Linked DNA regions of Homo sapiens: regions 1, 2, 3, 4, 5 and 6 are each linked to region 7. The links are contacts of gene promoters, found by promoter capture Hi-C in blood cells and fetal thymus (Javierre and others, 2016). All regions are on one chromosome and are shown on one strand. The core of a region is centred on a gene start or on the middle of the fragment in contact, and the rest is flanking DNA. Distances in the headings are between cores, read along the strand shown. Region 1 overlaps FBXO42 (F-box protein 42). Region 2 has its middle 7.1 kb from the start of ARHGEF19. Region 3 has its middle 3.5 kb from the start of CPLANE2. Region 4 has its middle 17 kb from the start of UQCRHL. Region 5 overlaps FBXO42 (F-box protein 42). Region 6 overlaps FBXO42 (F-box protein 42). Region 7 holds the start of FAM131C (family with sequence similarity 131 member C).

Region 1 (2,959 bases), core at 40-2,539, 220 kb after region 7:
CACACCCCTGGGTTGTTAAGAGTAACTAGCAGAGGCACGTCCCATACACTCCCCAAATATCTGAGCTGGCAACAACAACAGATATTCAGAGACCTTAGCCCTAGGACAATAGCTTCTGTCAGTCAACTACAGTTCTCACGACTCTGTGTTTCTGTTCTTACTTCAACCTCCTACCAAATGATGTATCACACCTGTATGAGTATACTTGAGAAAACCATGCAAATGAATTCACACAGCAGTACAGCAATTTTGGCAGGGCACCATTACTAATGATAAAGTATAATTTAACAAAAAACAAAGACTTACACAAGCATATTACTATTATCATTTACATGGCACATTAAACTTAAGGACCTGAGTCCCAGTAACCCATCCTTGAGACCAACACCAAAAATGATCAGGTAGAGTTTCCATGCCAAGGGAGTCACCTGGTAAGGAGGCAAAGATCAGCATTTCATCTCTTACCTGAAGCCAAAGGTCGGATCCACTCTTTGCTGTTTAGGTCAAGTCTCCAGAGGTCATTGAAAGCAGCATTGCAGCTGCTCTGGGTACAGCCTCCAAACACATACATAGACTGATTAGCATCATAATAGCATGCACCTAGAAAGAAAATACACAAATAACTGCTGTGAAAATTCTGAGGCCCTTCCAACATTTTAACCATAACATATATTTTTCAAAGCTTATTTCACACATTCAGCAATTTTGTTACCAAGTACCAAATTTCTATTACCAGCCTCTTGTCTCCAAGTGGATCAATATATTACCCTTTAAAACAAGGTCCAGAGGAAAGCTATGAAAATTTTATTTCTGAGCACACTAAGCAAGTTGACAATGATGTAACAGTGTAAGTCCAGCAAGAACACATAATAATTCACATTAAAGGTGCTCAAATGAGGGAAATTTCAGCACAGCTACATAATTGATCTAAATCTGCATCATTATCCTCTAGAGCTAAGCAAAGGTATGCCAACACATGTACTCTGTCCTCCCATTCCTTTCCTCCAATTCTCCTATTGTTTTTGTTTTCAAATTAAACCTGAAGCACAAATCAATAAATGAATCTTTTTTTTTTCTTTCTTTCTTTTTTTGAGATGGAGTCTCCCTCTGTCAGCCAGGCTGGAGTGCAGTGGCATGATCTCGGCTCACTGCAACATCTGCCTCCCAGGTGCAAGCGATTCTCCTGCCTCAGCCTCCCAAGTAGCTGGGATTACAGGTGTGCACCACCACACCCAGCTAATTTTTTTGTATTTTTAGTAGAGATGGAGTTTCACCATGTTGGCCAGGCTAATCTCGAACTCCTGACCTCAGGTGATCCACCCGCCTCGGCCTCTCAAAGTGCTGGGATTACAGGCATGAGCCACCATGCCCGGCCAATAAATGAATCTTTATATGACACACAATGAAATGATTTTAATCAATACTATGAAGTAACCACACATAAAGTCCAATGTGATTGAAGAAATACAGTTTTTATTAATTCCAAAGGCCAGTGGGGGAAACTCAATAGTAGTATGGTCTTGGACTAGTCCCAAAGCAACAGATTGAAAAAGCATGGAAATCATTAAGTCCCAATATGTATCCAAGAGCTACCAAGGCATGCTGGTTGGAGCCGACTAGAAAACAGAACGGTAACATTTAAAAAACACCAGGATCTCTAAAAAAAGCCTTCTTTGATTAGATGATTGTATACACATCACCAGGCATTCCTAAGAAAAAGAGGCAATGACTATCAGAAGGGCTGTTACCCAAAAACTACAAAGACCAAAGCCAGAGTCTAGAAAAGATGCATGAGTGCTAAGTTCTGCCCCTTGCGGTCTCTATCCTTTGGAAATGACGATCACATTCCTTACAGTCTTGCATTTGCCATCTTGGATTTCAGGAAGAGGCCCAAGCAAAGCTTTCCTTGCCATCCATTTCATGCACGCAGGAGGTAAAAATAAAATAAAATAAAATTAAGTAAACAAAAAAGACTTCTCAATGTTCATGTGAAACTAACGGTTCAGTGTCATATAAAAGGAAGGGGAAAGGAAAAAGAAATTCACAGATTCAGGCCAGGTGCAGTGGCTCATGCCTGTAATCCCAACACTTTGGGAGGCTGAGGCAGGCGGATCATGAGGTCAGGAGTTCGAGACCAGCCTGGCCAACATGGCAAAACCCCGTCTCTACTAAAAATAAAAAAATTAGCCAGGCGTGGTGGCGCATGCCTGTAATCCCAGCTACTCAGGAGGCTGAGGCAGGAGAATCGCTTGAACCCGGGAGGCGGAGGTTGCAGTGAGCCAAGATTGCGCCACTGCACTCCAGCCTGGACGACAGAGCAAGACTCCATCTCAAAAAAAAAAAAAAAAAAACAAAAACAAAAAACACCAACAAGAAATTCACAGATTCATTGCCCTGTGCATGGCTTTAATGATCATCTAGCATATTTGTAGGTCTAATTCAGTTTAGCACACCAATATTTTTAAGGTCTCTTCTGAACTCTGGCACTAGTTACCCGAGTTCAGAAAAAGGGAAATGCTACTACTGTTGACTCATCCAATGCCACTACTATAATCACCTCTGTGATACACACTATACTAGCTCTGGGAATAAACTCCCCCCTCCCCCGCACCCCCCACCCCCCGCTTTTTGTTTTTTTTGAGACAGAGTCTTGCTGTGTGGCCGAGGCTGGAGTCCAGTGCCACAATCTTGGCTCACTGCAACCTCCACCTGCCAGCTTCAAGCAATTCTTCTGCCTCAGTCTCCCGAGTAGGTGTAACTGGGATTACAAGCACACACCACCACACCCAGTTAATTTTTGTATTTTAGTGAAGACAGGGTTTCACCGTGTTGGCCAAGCTGGTCTCGAACTCCTGACCTCAGGTGATCCACCCGCCTCAGCCTCCCAAAGTGTTGGGATTATAGGTGAGAGCCAATGCGCCCAGCCCCCCACCTTCTTTTATTTTCCCTTAATTCAGCC
Region 2 (2,991 bases), core at 345-2,844, 150 kb after region 7:
CAGCTCTGGCAGGCAGGGAGTGTCAGGCCCGGGGCCACCTCCCCTGTTGTGCCAGGCCCCCAGGGGCCCCACTCATGCCCAGGGCACACGCTGCTGAGCGACTGCTCCTCCATCCCTGGGTATTCATCAAACAGGCCCTGACACTTGATGAGCTCATAGTCCTTCCTTCTCCCAGTGCTGCAGCTCCTGCCCGATCTGGGTGTCCCTCTGCCCTGCCAGCTGCCACTTCTGCCACCAAGCCTTCCGTTTCCTGGAGGCAGGGCAACCAGATAATGGTCATAACAGGGCCTTGTGCTAGGAACTGCCACTTCTATCACCAGCACCCCTTAGAGGCAGGCACCATGATGATTTCCACTGTATTGATGAGGAAACACACCTGGAGAATTTGGCCCAGGCTCCCCAAATTGTAAGTGGTGGAGCCAGTGTTCAAATCCAATCTGTTAGACTCGAGTCCAGTGCTCTCAACTCTGCACTTCCCACATAGTCATTCTTGGTCTCTGAAATATCACTGCCCCCTGAAAAAAATAGTAATAGAAAGCCCTCCATTTGCAAAGCTGTTTCCTGTTGAACGCCTCATAATCCCCTCAACTCTCATGGAGAGGTATTATTGTCTCCATTGTACAGATGACGAAACTGAGGCCCAGAGAGACACAAAGCCACGCAGCTTACAAGAAGCAGGGCTAGGACTTGTGCCCGTATCTTCTGTCCCAGTAAAGGGTTTTTCTGCTCTGCTCTTATAAAAGCCCTCCAAATGGCCTGATTAGGCCCAGCCTTGTCCCCCGTTCTTCCCCCAACACTCACAGCCCAACAAATTCTTCCATGTGGTTGAGCAGCTGTTTGCCCACCATGATGATGATGAGCTGCTGGGTGACCTGAATGTGGCAGCCACCAGGACCGCACTGTTGTTGGCAGACACAGAGCACCTTACTCAGGGCTTTGGGGCTGCATAGGGGTTACCCCACCTCCCTGCTGGTGCAGAGAGTTGGCCACCTGCTCCTCCTACCCACTTTGGAGGCCCCAGAGGCAGATCCTACCCCTGCCAGACCTGAGGTTGTGATGACTACCCCCTAACCCCCCAGAATCAGCAACCCAGGGGTACATAATCACATCCTCACTCGGCATGCTGAGCAAATGTGCCATACTGACCGGGGTATCCCACAAACCTGAGGGCCCCCTGCATCTGTGGGTAATTTGCTCTCCCTCTCTGGAGCCAGGCTGCAGCTAAACTCCATGCTGAGGCTGACCCCCTCTCCCCACTGCTCCTGGTCCTCTGGCCACCCCCTGAATTGACAGCTAACCCTGCTGACAGAGCTGATGGGAGGCCTTGCCTACCCTACTAGGCCCCAGAAGTCTGCTGGGACCATGGCCTGAATCTATGTACTGCTCAACCCATGATCAGCCAATGTGGCATTTATGGCCCAGGAAGATGGGGTCATTGTGCTGGGGAGTGGGCTCTTTTGGTGACCATCCCTCCCATCCCATCAAATGACAATGGCAATTACACAATAACAGCACCTCCTGAGAGTCCAGCATTTTATGACTCCTAACCAGATCTCATTAAAGACTCAATGCTTCTAGGAAAAAGGACCAGCTCTGATTCATTTCTGTGTCCCTAGCATCCAACCAAGGGTGCACAGCAGGAAGGCCCCCAAAAGATGGTGATAAACTCAAACTGCAGCATTGGGAGGTGGCATTGTCAGGCCTGGGGCCACCCAGTGAGGGCTGTAGGACAGACTGAATGCAGGTGTTAGATTTTACAGCTGTGCAATGGTGTACCCATAAATTACAGTTGCTAAGACTTTCGCCCAGGGAAATCAAGAACCAGCTTCAAGGTCCATAGCAAGACCTGGCTAGGAACAAATCTGGAGCCCAAAGGGTGCTGCTGCTTTGCTGGGCTGCTTCCTTGGGAGGCGACAGCCCTAAGGCTGGGGTTTGGGGAGTGGTCCTTACCTGCCTTTGAAGAATGCCATGTAGAAGGGAGAAGAATAGAAATTGACAAACTGAAAATGAAAGTGAAGGCATTTTCATGGAGGCATCTCTGGACAAAGGGCAGAGCTGGTCAGAATTCTATTGGGCGCAAGGGGGCAGGCATAGCCCATCAGGTCAGCCCCTATGCTCCTGTCCTTAACCTACCAACCCCTAATGCCAGCCATGTGTCCCTGGCCACTCTCGCTTGAGGGTGACTGGAGACACCAGACTCCCAGTTCCCAGATGACACAAAGATAGCCTTGCAACACATTACCTGGTTTTAGAGGAAGAACAGGCCAGGCACGGTGGCTCACACCTGTAATCCCAGCACTTTGGGAGGCTGAGATGGGTGGATCACTTGAGGTCAGGAGTTTGAGACCAGCCTGACCAACATGGTGAAACCCCATTTCTACTAAAAATACAAAAATTAGGCGGGTGTGGTGGGCCATTACCGGGAGCCCATCCATTGGTGGGATGAAAAAAACCTGAAGATGCCCACATTAGGCCTGGAGCCTGGAACAGTGCTCTCACCCTCCATTGCCCCAAAGGACATTCGCTTGGGTCATGAGCACAGAGTTGCCAGTGTGGAACATTGCAATGCTGATGATGCCATGGTAAATTATGACAGATACCAGGAAAATCATCACCACACAGAGCTGGGGGCCAGGAGAGAGGGCTGTCAGAGCTGGAGAGTGGACTGCCAGGGTTCCAGTGCACCCACCCTGGAGGAGCCAGTCCTTCCAGAGCAAAGGCCCAGTGTCCCCTCACCACAGTGAGGATGGCTGCAGAGCTGGTGAGTAGGTGGGAAAGGCAGCTGTGCGGTTGGAAGTAGGGCTCCTTCAAGCCTGTCACTGGGTTCTGGGTCATCTGCAGGGCCAGGGCAGCAAACTGTAGATGTGGGCACTCCTATCACAGGGGGCAACAGAAATGTGCATCCTAGGGCCAAGAGGCTGGTGCCATGATCCTAGGCTAGGGGAAGCCCCCCACCTTTTCCTGACTGCAGAGGGAGCTCTGGAAGTGCAG
Region 3 (2,828 bases), core at 261-2,760, 170 kb after region 7:
CTGTGATGGCAGGCGCCTGTAATCCCAGCTACTCTGGAGGTTGAGGCAGAAGAATCGCTTGAACCTGGGAGGTGGAGGTTGCAGTGAGCAGAATCATATCACTGCACTCCAGCCTGGGTGACAGAGCTGAATAAATAAAATTATGTATTCAGTGGAAGGCTGATCAAGGACTCAAAAGAATGCAATCTTTTGTCTCCTATCTACTTTTTTTTTTTTTGAGACAGAGTCTCACTCTGTCGCCCAGGCTGGAGTGCAGTGGCACAATCTCGGCTCACTGCAACCTCTGCCTCTGAGGTTCAAGTGATTCCCCTGCCTCAGCCTCCCAGGTAGCTGGGACTATAGGCATGCCCCACCATGTCCGGCTAATTTTTGTTGTTGTTGTATTTTAGTAGAGACGGGGTTTCACCATGTTGGCCAGGATGGTCTGGATCTCCTGACCTCATGATCCGCCCACCTCAGCCTTCCAAAGTGCTGGGATTATAGGCATGAGCCACTGCACCTGGCCTTGTCTCTTATGTATTTCTAACCTGGAAGCCCCTGCTTCAAGCTGTCCTGTCTTACCAGACCAAACCAATGTACATCTTACACATATTGATTGAGGTCTCATGTCTCCCTAAAACTTAAATGCAAACTGTACCCCTGACCACCTTGGGTATATGTCTCAGGATTTCCTGAGGCTGTCACGGGCACATCCTTAACCTTGGCAAAATAAACTTTCTAAATTGACTGTGACCTGTCTCAGATATTTGGGGTTCACACATCCAACCCCGACATTCTGTGTCAGGGGCTGGGTAGGTCTGTGAGCCTGCAGATTTGACAAAAGCACTAGGCAGTTCTGAAGTTGGGGTCTATATGAGTCAGCCCAGGCTGCTGTAACAAAAATACCACAGTCTGGGTACTCTAAACAACAGAAATTTATTTTCTCATAGTTCTAGAGGCTGGAAGTCCAAGATCAAGGTGCCAGCAGAGTTGGTTTCTGGGTGGGGCCTCTCTTCCTGGCTTACAGATGGCCTCTTCTCTGTGCTTATACATGTCTGGTGTCTCTTCCTCTGTTACAAATAGGACATTAGTCCTACTGGATTAGGGCTCCATGCTTATGGTCTCATTTAACCTTGATTACCTTTTTCTTTTATTTTTTGAGACAGGGCCTCACTCTGTCACCCAGGCTAGAGGGCAGTGGTGTGATCTCAGCTCACTGCAGCCACGACCTCCTCAGGCTCAAGCAATCCTCCTGCCTCAGCCCCGAGGGGAGCTAGGACTACAGGTGCATATCAGCACGCCTGGCTAATTTTTTTTTTTTTTGTATTTTTGTTTGTTTGTTTGAGACAAAGTCTCGCTCTTGTGCCCCAGGCTGGAGTGCAATGGCGCGATCTTTGCTCACTGCAACCTCCATCTCCCAGGTTCAAGTGATTCTCCTGCCTCAGCCTCCCAAGTAGCTGGGATTACAGGCGCCTGCCACCACACCCAGCTAATTTTTGTATTTTTAGTAGAGACGGGGTTCTACCATGTTGGCCAGGCTGGTCTTGAACTCCTGACCTCGGGTGATCCGCCCGCCTTGGCCTCCCAAAGTGCTGGGATTACAGGCATTAGCCACCATGCCCGGACTTTTTCTTTTGTATTTTTTTAGAGGTACGGTTTTGCCTTGTTGCCCAGGCTTGTCTCAAACTCCTGGCCTCAAGTGATCTGCCTGCCTTGGCCTCTGAAAGTGCTGGGATTACAGTCATCAGTCACCATGCTCACCCTTCATTACCTTTTTTTTTTTTTTTTTTTTTAGTCTAGATGAATTTATTGCCATTCACATATTTCATAGAAAAAAAGATGTAGCAAATGGGTCAGGGTTGTACCAAAAAAATCCAGGTTTATAAGGTTGCTCTATTTACATCTGAGAGCAGGGCTGTCCTGGCATCAGGCACAGCAGCTGCAGTTGTCCGACGTCCCTTTGCAGATGCAGCCCTGGGCACACTTGGCACAGCCCACAGGGCAGCAGGAGCAGCAGCTCTTCTTGCAGGAGGTGCATGTGCACTCTTTTCATTTGCAGGAGCCGGCACAGGCGCAGGAACCATCAGGCGAGCAGGAGCAGTTGGGGTCCATTTAGAGGCAGGGAGAAGCAGGAGTTCCTGATCAAGAGGCAAACACTCAGCGGGACAGATGAAAAGCGTGCCTTAATTACCTCTTTAAAGGACCTATTTCCAAATATGGTCACATTGGGGGCTAGGGCTTCAATGTATGGATTTGGGTGGAGCAGGGCATAATTCAGTCCATAACAGGGTCCACAGACCTCATGTAAACACTGCTGCTGGGCAAAGGAGGCCAGCTGACTGTTGGGACCTGAAAGTGACATGGTTAGAACTGCGTTTCAGAAGGACGCTTGTGGACCGTGTTGGTCTATGAGTTCTGCTCTCCTGTGCCCCTCTGACCACTAAACTATGTGTCCCCCTAAGCCAGCTGCTTCTCCTTTCAGGGCCTCAAGCAAAACATGTAGAACATCTCCCTAAGGACTCTTCTAGTCTAGAGCCCTCTGATTTTTTTTTTTTTTTTTTTTGAGACAGAGCCTTGCTCTGTCGCCAGGCTGGAGTGCAGTGGCATGATCTTGGCTCACCGCAACTTCCACCTCCCAGGTTCAAGCAGGTCTCCTGCCTCAGCCTCCCAAGTAGCTGGGACTACAGGCGCATGCCACCACGCCTAGCTAATTTTTGTATTTTTAGTAGAGACAAGGTTTCACCATGTTGGCCAGGACGGTCTCAATCTCCTGACCTCGTGATCTGCCCGCCTCGGCCTCCCAAAGTGCTGGGATTACAGGCATGAGCCACTGTGCCCGGCCTAGAGCC
Region 4 (3,129 bases), core at 287-2,786, 250 kb before region 7:
GAGGCTGAGGCAGGGGGATCACCTGAGGTCAGGAGTTCGAGACCAGCCTGACCAACATGGAGAAACCCCATCTCTACTAAAAATACAAAATTAGCCCAGCGTGATGGCGCATGCCTGTAATCCCAGCTATTCAGGAAGCTGAGGCAGGAGAATTGCTTGAATCCTGGAGGTGGAGGTTTCAGTTAGCAGAGATCGTGCCATTGCACTCCTGCCTGGTCAACAAGAGTGAAACTCCATCTCAAAAAAAAAAAAAAAAAAAAAAGCTTCAATAGCTATTAGGCATAAATGTTGCAGGATAAAATATACATGATACTTTATATCTGTATTTAATCACATGTTCCAATAAAGAATGATAAAGTAATACATTGAAAATACAAATTGGCCAAGCACAGTGACTCACGCCTGTAATCCTAGCACTTTGGGAGGCCCAGGTGAGTGGATCATCTGATCTCAGAAGTTGGAGACCAGCCTGGGCAACATGGAGAAGCCCCATCTCTATCAAAAATACAAAATATTAGCCGGGTGTAGTGGCATCACCTGTAGTCCCAGCTACTCAGGAGGCTGAGCCGGATGATTAAAAAAAGAAAATACACATTTTGACTTGTTTTTTTTTTTTTTTTTTTTTTTGAGTGGGAGTTTCACTTTTGTTTTCCAAGCTGGAGTGCAATGGTGTGGTCTCTGTTCATTGCAACCTCTGCCTCCTGGGTTCAAGCAATTCTCCTGCCTTAGCCTCCGGAGCAGCTGGGATTACAGGGGCGTGCCACCATACCCAGGAAATTTTTTGTGTTTTTAGTAGAGATGGGGTTTCACTATGTTGGCCAGGCTGGCCCTGAACTCCTGACCTCAGGTTATCCACCTGCCTTGGCCTCCCAAAGTGCTGGGATTACAGGGGTAAGCCACCGAGCCTGGACTTGACTTTTGATTATATTTATCAGTACATAGAATTCTGAAGGTGAGCTGGGTTGGGTGGCTCATGCCTCTAATTCCAGCACTTTGGAAGCCCGAGGCAGGCAGATCACTGGAGGTCAGAAGCTCGAGACCAGCCTGGCCAACATGGCAAAACCCCTTCTCTACTAAAAAACACAAAAATGAGGCTGGACGCGGTGGCTCACGCCTATAATCCCAGCACTTTGGAGGCTGAGGTGGGCGGATCACGAGGTCAGGAGATAGAGACCATCTTGGCCGACATGGTGAAACCCTGTCTCTACTAAAAATACAAAAATTACTTGGGCGCAGTGGCACGTGCTGGTAATCCCAGCTACTCAGAAGACTGAGGCAGGAGAATCGCTTGAACCTGGGAGGTGGAGGTGGCAGTGGGCCGAGATCACGCCACTGCACTCCAGCCTGGTGACAGAGCTAGACTGTGTCTCAAAAAAAAAAAAAAAAAATTAGCCGCCTGTGGTGGCGCATGCCTGTAATCCCAGCTACTTGGGAGGCTGAGGCAGAAGATTGCTTGAACCTGGGAGGCTGCAGCTATAATAAGCCGAGATTGCACCACTGCACTCCAGCCTGGGTGACAGAGGAAGACTCCGTCTCAAAAAAAAAAAATTTATGAAATTCTGAAGGTGGAGCTTGACCCCAAAGTGATATATCTGTTTTCCTTTTTTTCTTTTTTTTTTGAGACGGAGTCTCACTCTGTCACCCAGGCTGGAGTGCAGTGGCACGATTTCAGCTCACTGCAACCTCCACCTCCTGGGTTCAAGTGATTCTCCTGCCTTAGCCCCACGAGTAGCTGGGATTACAGGCATGAGCTACCACGCCCAGCTAATTTTGTATTTTTAGTAGAGACGGGGTTTCTCCATGTTGGTCAGGCTAGTCTTGAATTCCAGACCTCAGGTGATCTGCCTGCCTCAGCCTCCCAAAGTGCTAGGATTACAGGCATGAGCCACCGCGACCAACCTTAATATTTGTATTTTATTAGAGATGGGGTTTCACCGGGTTGGCCAAGCTGGTCTTGAACTCCTGACCTCAGGCAATCCACCCATCTCGGCCTCCCAAAGTGCTGGGATTACAGGTGTGAGCCACCGTGCCCAACCCACGTTTTCAAATTAAGCACGTAGACAATCTTTTTATTTCACTGTTGTTCACTGGGATGTGGTAGAACTAGAGCAGGGTCCAATATGGGGGAAGAAAGTCTTTTAAAAAGAAAATTATGGCTGGGTGCGGTGGCTCACGCCTGTAATCCCAGCACTTTGGAAGGCCAAGGCAGGTGGGTCATGAGGTCAGGAATTCGAGACCAGCCTGGACAACATGGTGAAACCCCGTCTCTACTAAAAATACAACAATTAAGCGGGTGTGGTGGCACATGCCTGTAATCCCAGCTACTCAGGAGGCTGAGGCAGGGGAACCACTTGAACCTGGGAGGCAGAGGTTGCAGTGAGCAGAGATCAGGCCACTGCACTCCAGCCTGGGTGACAGAGCGTGACTCTGTCTCAAAAAAAAAAAAAAAAAGTAAAGAAAAATACAGCCGGGCACAGTGGCTCACGCCTGTAATCCTAGTACTTTGGGAGACAGAGGCAGCAGGATCTTTTGAGCTGGAGTTCTCCCAGCCAAGAAATAATTTATTATTCATGTTATCATGGAGCAGATATGAGGGTAGAAGGAGACCACATCCTGGGAGTGTAACAATTCCTCCAGAAGCCCTAAGGTTTTGAGTTCCCTCTTGCTGCACTGACCCAGGAACTTCCTAAAACAGAAGGTACTTTCCAACATCACAGTCTCTGGCATCTTCCCCTCTAAGCCTCACTGTCAGACTTTTCCAAAGGTCATACTTACTGTTTTTTTTTTTTTTTTCTTCAATCCATTCCAATCAAGCTTTTGCCTCCTACTCCACCCAGACAGCTTGTGTCAAGGTCACCCATGACTTCCACTTATTCATACAACACTCAATTTTCATGCCTCAGCTTAATCTCTCAGCAGCATTTCATAGTTGACCATTCCCTTCACTTTTTTTTTTTTTTTTTTTTGAGACCGAGTCTTACTCTGTCATCCAGGCTGGAGTGAAGTGGTGCGATCTCGGCTCACTGCAACCTCCGCCTCCCGGGTTCAAGCAATTCTCCTGCTTCAGCCTGTCGAGCCAGCATTCCTGTGCGTCACCATTCCCGGCTAATTTTTGTATTTTTACTAGAG
Region 5 (2,943 bases), core at 276-2,775, 180 kb after region 7:
CATGCTCAGGAATACTGACCCTAACTTACTTTTTTTTTTTTTTTCCTTAAGAGTCTCGATCTGTTGCCCAGGCTGGAATGCAATGGGGTGATCTTGGCTCACTGCAATCGCCACTTCCCAGGTTCAAGCGATTCTCCTGCCTTAGTCTCCCAAGTAACTGGGACTACAGGTGTGTGCCACCATGCCCGGCTAATTTTTGTATTTTTAGTAGAGATGGGGCTTCGCCATGTTCGCCATGCTGGTCACAAACTCCTGACCTCAGGTGATCCACCCACCTTGGCCTCCCAAAATGCTGGGATTACAGGTGTGAATTAGGCACCTGGTCCCTAATTCACTTTTAAACCTGTTATTCCCAGGAGTATTTACCTTCAGGCTCATATGGAGCAAACCAAATGTACTTACATTTGCCGGGATCCTAAAGAGCCACCAAAGACAATCATTTTATCATCTATCACACAGGAGGAGTGGCCAGCCATGGGAGGTGGCCCATGGGTTGTCACAATGCAGTTCCACCTAATGTAAAAAGACAGGAGGAAGTCAAGAAGTCAGCACCACACACTTTATGTAAAAATAGTAAGTAGGCATCCATTTAAAATGATAATCCTATCACTTTCAGCAGAGATTTGTTGGGATAATAAGTAGAGGATGGCATAATGTATTTATGCCTTTCCTACAAGTTTGCTTAAAGTTATCTTCTTTCAAGTTCTGAATGTAAACGGTCTGGAGGGAGAGAGATGAGAAAACGATGACAAGAGACAAGATCATGGCTTCTTTGGCCTGGTTTGCTGACAAAGCACCACCTGCCACCTGCTACCTTTCCCTATGGTCCTGATCAGTAACAGCTAACAAGCGCCACGTACTAAGTCTTCCATTACAAGAAACGGCGGTTGCTGTCATTAAGAGATATATGTTTGAAAAACAATTCAGAGTAAGTCTTGGAGACACAGTTAGGAGTAAGGAATCATCTGGATCTACAACACTCCTGGAGTGTTAGCAGCCAAAGCTGAAGAGCTCGCTGTTCTTCAACTGGCTCATTCATTTTTCTTGAAAGAGGAATAAATCTCTTCTATTTTTTCTCTTTAGAATAAGGATTCTAAATGCAGGGTTCTAAGAGAGTCCTGTAAACTCTCTGAAACTGTTGGTAAAATCTGTGAATATGTGCATTTTTCCCCTCCTGGGAAAAGAGTCCACAGCTTTCCATCTAATTCTCAAAGGGACTCTTGACACAAAAAAACAAAGAATCCACTGATTTAAGGCCTTTTCTTCCAGATTTAAAGAGTTTATCTTTGTGACTTACCAATTTTTAGAGGGTGAGTAAGTGTGTATTTCATCAAAGAATCTCTCTGGCTGGTGTAGGGGATAAGGGCTTGGCCGCGTCCAGCCACCAAACAGCACTAGCAAGTCCTTGTACACGACCAGAGTTGCTCCAGCTTTGGGGGAAGGATAGGACCCTAGGGAAAGTCAGTAACACCATGGTTAGCATTCAGGATCTCACAACAATCCGTAGTTAGGCTATCCATAGATCACCTTTCCCTGGAAGAGCAACAAAAGGGGAACTAATACTACAAAGTGTAGAGGAAAGGTGGAAAGAAAACTGGGTTTGAGTCTGAGAGAAAATCATCACTAATTCACACGTCTTTTATTATTAACAGAGAAATATGAGTTAGAGAAAAGTTACTTAGCCTCTCTCATGTTTATAATTTGCTCACCTAAAATTAGGGATGAGAGTACCTATCTCATAAGGCTGTTTTGAGTATTAAATAGTATATTCAAAGCACCTAACATAATGCCTGGCACATAGAAAGTGCTCAACAAATGAGCACCCCTTCCCATCCCTTTAACAAACTTAACAGAGGTCACAAAGAAAAGAAAGAATGTAGAGGACCAGGGAGAAGTATACATAGAGGCTGGATGTCTGGATGCAACTTAAAAATAACTCGTTACAAAACACAGGTAAGAAAAGGAGGCAGGAGGCAGTTCTTATTTGTCCCGTGAGTCAAATTTTAACATAGGGACCTCCAGGCCCCTAGCTATGGGCTTCACATAACCAGATAGCCTCAGCCTAGCACAAATGGGGCAGACCTTCAAGGATTGGTGTGAAGGAATTCCAGTGAAACCATAAGTCTTACACCAAACACCATCTAGACTGGACCTCTGGGCTACACTGACCAAATTCTGAAAAAAAACACTTTGGCTTATGCTGGAAAACTTTAGAGATAACAAATGTCTTACAGGAGCATAATTTTTCAAAATCTATTGTCTTTGAAATAACAATTGCTATTTTTCCCCATCCCTCACTCTACATGTCACCTTTAGTTTCCTCAAGACCAAAGTAACTTGTCCCAATATCCAGGTGTCAGTAAATACCAGAATACTTTTTTTTTCCTTTGGAGGTGGAGTCTCGCTTTGTCACCCAGGCTGGAGTGCAATGATGCAATCTCGGCTCACTGCAACCTCCACCTCCTGGGTTCAAGTGATTTTCCTGCCTTAGCCTCCTGAGTAGCTGGGATTACAGGCATCTGCCATCATGCCCAGCTAATTGTTGCATTTTTAGTTGAGATGGGGTTTCACCATGTTGGCCAGGCTGGTCTCAAACTCCTGACCTCAGGTGATCTACCCGCTTTGGCCTCCCAAAGTGCTGGGATTACAGGCGTGAGCCACCATGCCTCGCTGAGAATACTTTTTTTTTTAAAATCTTTTTTTTTTCTTTTTGGTTAAAGCTGCAGGACTCATTTTTCAAAGGATATCTTAAGCAGAAGAAATCCCAACACTACATTAACCTGACAGCAGTCGAGATGCTCCAATCTAGGTGGAGAGCTTTGCTTCCTCTTTCAGTAGCACATTACAGAACACTGTTTGAAAAGCCCTGCTCAGACTGCTTTAATGGTGTCACTTACAAAGTCTCAAGGTTGAGAAGGTAGAGCAGAGGACTGTCTTTCTTGT
Region 6 (3,010 bases), core at 198-2,697, 200 kb after region 7:
AATAATAAAATAAAATAGCTGGGCATAGTGGTTCATGCCTGTAGTCCTTGCTACTTGGGAGGCTGAAGCAGGAGGATCGCTTGAGCCCAGGAATTTGAGGCTGCAGTGAGCTATGATGATGCCACTGTATTCCACTCAGGGACAAAAAGCTAGACCCTGTCTCTTACCCAAAAACAGAAAAGGAAGAATAAAAATAAAAAGCCATAGTTCAAGAGTTCATCTCCTCAAGGGGGAATGAGAAATAGCTTCTGAGTTTTAAAAGGACAAAGGAGGCCAGGAGTGGTTGCTCATGCCTGTAATCCCAGCGCTTTAGGACGCTGAGGTGGGTGAATCACCTAAGGTCAGGAGTTGGAGACCAGCCTGGCCAACATGGCAAAACCCCGTCTCTACTAAAAAAATTAGCCAGGCGTGGTGGTGGTACGTGCTTGTAATCCCAGCTACTCGGGAGGCTGAGGGAGGAGAATTGTTGCCAAGAACAGCCTTGGCAACAGAGTGAGACCCCGTCTCAAAATAAATAAACAAAAAAGGGCAAAGGAGCCTCCTAGAATTCAAGGTGATATTTATAAGTCAATAAACGACCCATCACAGCTCTTACCCACCTAGGAACAGCACATCTCCTCACAGTTATGAAAACTGGAAAACTTGGCAGGGTGCGGTGGCTCACGCCTGTAATCCCAGCACTTTGGGAGGCCGAGGTGGGTGGATCACGAGGTCAGGAGATCGAGACCATCCTGGCTAACACGGTGAAACCCCGTTCTACTAAAAATACAAAAAATTAGCCGGGCATGGTGGCATGCACCTGTAGTCCCAGCTATTCGGGAGGCTGAGGCAGGAGAATGGCGTGAACCCAGGAGGCAGAGCTTGCAGTAAGCCGAGATCACACCACTGCACACCAGCCCGGGCGACAGACCGACACTCTGTCTCAAAAAAAAAAAAAAAAAGAAAAGAAAAGAAAAGAAAACTGGAGAACTTGAGAAACTGGCCTGATCCTAATTACATAGAAACTAAACAGCCAAACATTGAGCACGAGCCATGAATTGGTCCATGGCACTACCAAGTGTCCTTGAAACCAAGAGGGTCATTCCTGGGAAGCAGAAGTTAGAAATGACTCAGGGATAGTATCTTGCGTTCCTCTCCCATTTAGAATTAGCCTCTTATAACTACATTTAGGACATAAAGTTAATCTATATAGCATTGGAGATATACAAGGATAAGGCATCATATGAAATGAAATTTATTGTGGTAATAAAACATGAAGTACTGTTAGGAGATTACATGGATACCTGAGAATAAGAGAAACAATGCTAGATGATTTGAGACTTTTACTCCATGGGGGAACCCAAGAGTAAACAAAAACTGTCCAGATGGTAGGCAGACAGGATCACAGCATGTAGATTTGAAAGCTGAGAATTCTAAGAAATGTCACTGCTTATTTTCACTGACACTACTAAAATAAGAAGGTTTTATTTTAGATGGTTTTAAGAAAGAATAGAAAAGTCTCATGAGTTTGACCCAATGACTACAAGTTAAAGGAGGCAGGATTTTCAACATGGAGGAGAAATAGCTAAGGACAGATATTAATACATTTTGGTAATAAATACATTTGGTAATCAAGGAAAGATCTGTGAGTAGAACTGGATTGTCTCATTCACAAACAAAATACTAAAACAATGAGATCAATCACTCGTTTTTAAGACAGAATAGAAGCTAGGAGTATATTTGAAAGGCACGTGTGTCCTCTTGTTATACTGTCTGATATTCAGCAGTTAATCATCATCCACTTCTTCCCCATTGCCACAAGATTTGGCATTCTCCTAACACATTTGCATATTATAATTTTAAAAATGTATAAAGTGCTTAGTGCAAAACAATATTAAAAAGCAGAATCGAATAGTGACAAGCACATTAATACATCATTCTTTTTTTTTCTTTTTTTCTCCTCCCTGCCCCCACTACTAATATATTATTTTTAAAAATTCCATATCCAGGCTGGGCATGGTGGCTAATGCTTGTAATCCCAGCATTTTGGGGGGCCGAGGCAAGCGGATCACTTGAGCTCAGAAGTTTGAGACCAGCCTGGCCAACACGGTGAAACCCTATCTCTACTAAAAATACAAAAACTAGCCGGGCGTGGTGGTATGCACCTGTAATCCCAGCTACTCAGGAGGCTGAGGCAGAAGAATTGCTTGAATCCAGGAGGCGGAGGTTGCAATGAGCCGAAATTCGCCACTGCACTCCAGGCCGGGTGACAGAGCGAGATTCTGTCTCAAAAAAAAAAAAAAAATTAAAAAATTCCACATCCAGGCTGGGCGTGGTGGCTCAGGCCTGTAATCCCAGCACTTTCGGAGGATGAGGCAGGAGGATCACTTGAGCCTAGAAGTTTGAGACCAGCCTGGGCAACAGGGCAAGACCCTGTCTCAACAAAAAATTTAAAAAATTAGCTGGGCTTGGTGGCATATGTCTATAGTCCCAGCTACTAGGGAGGCTGAGGCAGGAGGATCACTTGAGCCCAAGAGGTCGAGGCTGCAGTAAACCATGTTCGTGCCACTGTACTCCAGCCTGGGTGATGGAGTGACACCCTGTATCAAAAAATAAATAATTTTTAAAAATCCACATCCAGGCCAGGCGTGGTGGCTCATGCCTGTAATCCCAGCACTTTGGGAGGCCGAGGCGGGCGGATCACCTGAGGCTGGGAGTTTGAGACCACCCTGACCAACATGGAGAAACTCCATCTCAACTAAAAATACAAAATTAGCTGGGTATGGTGGCACATGCCTGTAATCCCAGCTACTCGGGAGGCTGAGGCAGGAGAATCGCTTGAACCCGGGAGGCGGAGGTTGCAGTGAGCCGGAGATCACGCCATTGCACTCCAGCCTGGGCAACAAGAGCGAAACTCCATCTCAAAAAAAAAAACAAAAAACAAAACAAAAAAAACCACATCCAGCTGTTTCAATGTTAGCACCGACGTTTGGGACCTGAGCCAAAGGATGGACTGGGAAATCTTTTCCCA
Region 7 (2,791 bases), core at 164-2,663:
TCCCCAGCCGGGATTCCACCCCGATACCTCCCAGAGACATCCTGAGCCACTTACCTGAATGCCCACAGGAACTCCTGAGCAGAAGCCCTTCGAGTCCAGAGGATGGGGGAAGGTCATTGTGCTCCTTGCTCAATACCCCCAGGACAAGGTCCCCTCTATTCTGGGTAAGCTACTAGGGGTGATGGGTGTGGTGGTGGTCAGTGGGTTTGGCCTCAGCCTGCAGAGCCTGAACCAAGGCCAAAGCCACCCCCACTCCCAGTCACACCCCCCTGATCCCACTGTGGGGTGAACAGACCAAGGTGGGAGAAGGGCTCAGCCCAATCGCTTGTCTAAAATGTTGCCCAACAGCCTGTTGGAAAGCTGGTGGTGATGGGTGGGGGTGGAGGTAGGGGGCTCCAAAGACCAAACTGCCCATCCCCCAATCTCTGTGCAAGACTGTGTGTCCCCTCCTCACAGATAGAAGAGGCTGGGGCCTGCCCTGGGCCCCCAGGCAAGGGCAGGTCCCCTCCACCTCCTTGGGTACCACGTGGGGGAGAGTGGAGGGTGACAGGTCAGACACAGAGAGAAAGGCCCAGGGGTAACTGGGAACATCAGCTGTGCTCTGGCCCTTCTGTCCCCTGTCCAAGGATGGGGGTGGGGAGGAGGATTAGGGGGCAGGGGAACCTTCTTTATAACCTGTGCCCCACCATTAACCCTTTCCTGCCAACAGGGTTCAGGGGCTCTGCAGATGGGGGCACCCGGTAAGACGTGGGAAGGGGCTGTGGGGGTGAGCTGGTAAGACCTGTGTCTTGGGGAGGGGTGGGAAAGGGAGGGTCTGCTAGTTCTCCCGGTGCCCGCAGTTCCTCCGGGAAGCCAGGAAGAACCAGAGCTGGTTCCCAGGCACCCGGCAGGGGGTGTGTGGCTGTAGGGATGAGAGCGCGGCACGGCACGGGACCCTGCTTCGTGTCACCTGCGGGGCTGCAAACTGGGGCGGGGATGCGGTGACCTCTGCACGTGCGCTCTCTGCGCTGCCCCCGCCCCCTACCGTCCCTAGCTCTGTCCCCCTCAGGACGCCGCGTCCCCAGGGGTGCGGCGGGGCCGTGAAGGGCGGGTCGCCAGCCCCATCCCCCAGGTCTCCGAGCGGCGAGGGGACTGCGCGGGTCCCCGGCACCCGATCCCCCCGCCCCCGGCCGGGCCCCCTCACCTCGCGACACGCAGGAGCCCATCACGGGGCCGCGGGGCCGGGCCGCTGCGCCCGGGGTGCGTGGGGCCGCGGGGCGTTCATGTCTCCGCGGGCCCGGGGCTGAGCGCTGCGGAGCCAGAGGACGGGCGGGGCGGGGGGCTCGGGCGCCCTCAGCTCGGCCTCAGCTCCAGCCTGGGTCGTCCCTGCTGCCGCCGCGCCCGGCTCGCCTCGCGCCGCCGCCTCCCGCGCAGTGCCCGCCGCTGCCAGGGGAGGGCGACACCGCGGGGCGCGGCGGGCGGGGCCCGGGGGAGCGCAGCCGGGAGGCTCGGGCACACCTGTGGCCGCAGCGCGCGGGAGGGCCATCTCTGTCCCTTCGGGGCTCCCCCACCTCCTGGGGTTGCCCGGGCTGAAGGTCAGGGAAGGGGACAGAGGGGGCGGGGAGACTCCTGGCATTTGGGGCACAAAGTAAACAACATGAATTTAACCACACCAACGACGACTGGGCACGAAGGCTTGGGAGCGAGGAGGGGTGCGCGCAAGAACAACAGTTCCATTGGGCCTATTTTTAGAGGATGAAAGTGAGGCTCGCAGAAGTTAGAGGCCTTGCCTGAGAGCCCTAAGCTGTGAGTTCAGCGACTTTTGACTGTCAGCGCCTCATTCAGAGCTATTGAAATTAACATATGCAAAATAATATATGCCCAGAGGTGGGGTAGAGAGAGTGCGGGTAGATAGTGCGCTGGTGGCCTGGCGGCGGGATGAAGGGTCTCCAGCGATGGTTGAAGAGGGGGGCAAGGCTGCCTCTCAGGGCTTGTCTAGGGCAGAGTAAACTGAGGCACAGGTTTTTTTCCCCAGCCCTGGACGGCCTCTGTAGTCATTCACACTTACTCGCACGTACCTACACACACACTCTCCCATGTGTACATACCCCTCATTCACACACTGATGGTCATACACACACATATATATGCACACTTGCATTTACATACACGCACACACACTCACATACCTACACATGAATACACAGTCTCCCATGTGTACATACCCACTCACACCCACACAATGACAGTTATACACTCACATTGAAGCACGCTTGCATTTACACACACACACACACACACACATCCCAGCTCCTGAGGTGTGAAGATCCTTTAGCAAAATTTCCCATGCACACAGCACTCAATGTCAGTGTCTGAGACCCTCACTCACACATAGCATCTCGCTCTCTCCTTCATGCCCACCTGTGCATCAGGCAGGGCAGGCACTCTTGTGTCTGTTTTCCAGTTGAGGCAGCCAGGTTCACTGGTGGCAGCAGAGAAATGTTTTGAAGAATGAATAAGGAGGGGCCAGGCGCGGTGGCCCACGCCTGTAATCCCAGCACTTTGGGAGGCCAAGGCAGGCAGATCACTTGAGGTCAGGAGTTCGAGACCAGCCTGGCCAATATGGTGAAACTCCGTCTCTACCAAAAATATAAAAAATTAGCTGGGTGTGGGCTTGGCACAGTAGTTCATGCCTGTAATCACACCACTTTGGGAGGCCGAGGTGGGCGGATCACCTGAGGTCAGGAGTTTGAGACCAGCCTAGCCAACATGGTGAAACCCCGTCTCTACTAAAAATACAAAAATTAGCCAG

The links. The method cuts DNA at HindIII sites, captures the fragments that hold promoters and counts their contacts. A CHiCAGO score of 5 or more calls a contact.
Region 1: a contact is called between a fragment that was not itself captured here and the fragment with the promoter of FAM131C in region 7, in 5 of 17 cell types (endothelial precursors, non-activated CD4 T cells, naive CD4 T cells and 2 more). The highest score is 7.9, in endothelial precursors.
Region 2: a contact is called between a fragment that was not itself captured here and the fragment with the promoter of FAM131C in region 7, in 13 of 17 cell types (endothelial precursors, naive CD4 T cells, M0 macrophages and 10 more). The highest score is 14.2, in endothelial precursors.
Region 3: a contact is called between a fragment that was not itself captured here and the fragment with the promoter of FAM131C in region 7, in 15 of 17 cell types (naive CD4 T cells, endothelial precursors, activated CD4 T cells and 12 more). The highest score is 25.7, in naive CD4 T cells.
Region 4: a fragment that was not itself captured here is called in contact with the fragment with the promoter of FAM131C in region 7 in 1 of 17 cell types (activated CD4 T cells); the score reaches 5.8 in activated CD4 T cells.
Region 5: a contact is called between a fragment that was not itself captured here and the fragment with the promoter of FAM131C in region 7, in 14 of 17 cell types (naive CD4 T cells, fetal thymus, naive CD8 T cells and 11 more). The highest score is 15.8, in naive CD4 T cells.
Region 6: a contact is called between a fragment that was not itself captured here and the fragment with the promoter of FAM131C in region 7, in 9 of 17 cell types (naive CD4 T cells, naive CD8 T cells, endothelial precursors and 6 more). The highest score is 8.1, in naive CD4 T cells.

Annotation. Positions count from the first base shown.
Region 1 is chr1:16,294,318-16,297,276 of GRCh38, forward strand. FBXO42 (F-box protein 42) reads right to left here. Exons shown (of 10, transcript NM_018994.3): 4 at 466-600. Among named protein-coding and RNA genes, the nearest start is that of FBXO42, 57 kb to the right of the region's middle. The HindIII fragment of the contact is 1,218 bases long and covers 681-1,898 here.
Region 2 is chr1:16,218,264-16,221,254 of GRCh38, forward strand. It overlaps the pseudogene ANO7L1. Among named protein-coding and RNA genes, the nearest start is that of ARHGEF19, 7.1 kb to the left of the region's middle. The HindIII fragment of the contact is 4,750 bases long and covers 1-2,991 here.
Region 3 is chr1:16,239,308-16,242,135 of GRCh38, forward strand. It overlaps the pseudogene MT1XP1. Among named protein-coding and RNA genes, the nearest start is that of CPLANE2, 3.5 kb to the left of the region's middle. The HindIII fragment of the contact is 5,672 bases long and covers 1-2,828 here.
Region 4 is chr1:15,823,239-15,826,367 of GRCh38, forward strand. No RefSeq gene overlaps it. Among named protein-coding and RNA genes, the nearest start is that of UQCRHL, 17 kb to the left of the region's middle. The HindIII fragment of the contact is 2,551 bases long and covers 262-2,812 here.
Region 5 is chr1:16,255,309-16,258,251 of GRCh38, forward strand. FBXO42 (F-box protein 42) reads right to left here. Exons shown (of 10, transcript NM_018994.3): 5 at 1,298-1,451; 6 at 403-513. Among named protein-coding and RNA genes, the nearest start is that of CPLANE2, 20 kb to the left of the region's middle. The HindIII fragment of the contact is 4,911 bases long and covers 1-2,943 here.
Region 6 is chr1:16,275,456-16,278,465 of GRCh38, forward strand. The region is part of intron 4 of FBXO42 (F-box protein 42); the gene reads right to left. Among named protein-coding and RNA genes, the nearest start is that of CPLANE2, 40 kb to the left of the region's middle. The HindIII fragment of the contact is 3,464 bases long and covers 1-3,010 here.
Region 7 is chr1:16,072,238-16,075,028 of GRCh38, forward strand. It overlaps FAM131C (family with sequence similarity 131 member C), which reads right to left and starts at 1,414. Exons shown (of 7, transcript NM_182623.3): 1 at 1,184-1,414. The coding sequence starts at 1,205. RefSeq lists a silencer at 1,309-1,468 and an enhancer at 1,677-2,176. The HindIII fragment of the contact is 12,659 bases long and covers 1-2,791 here.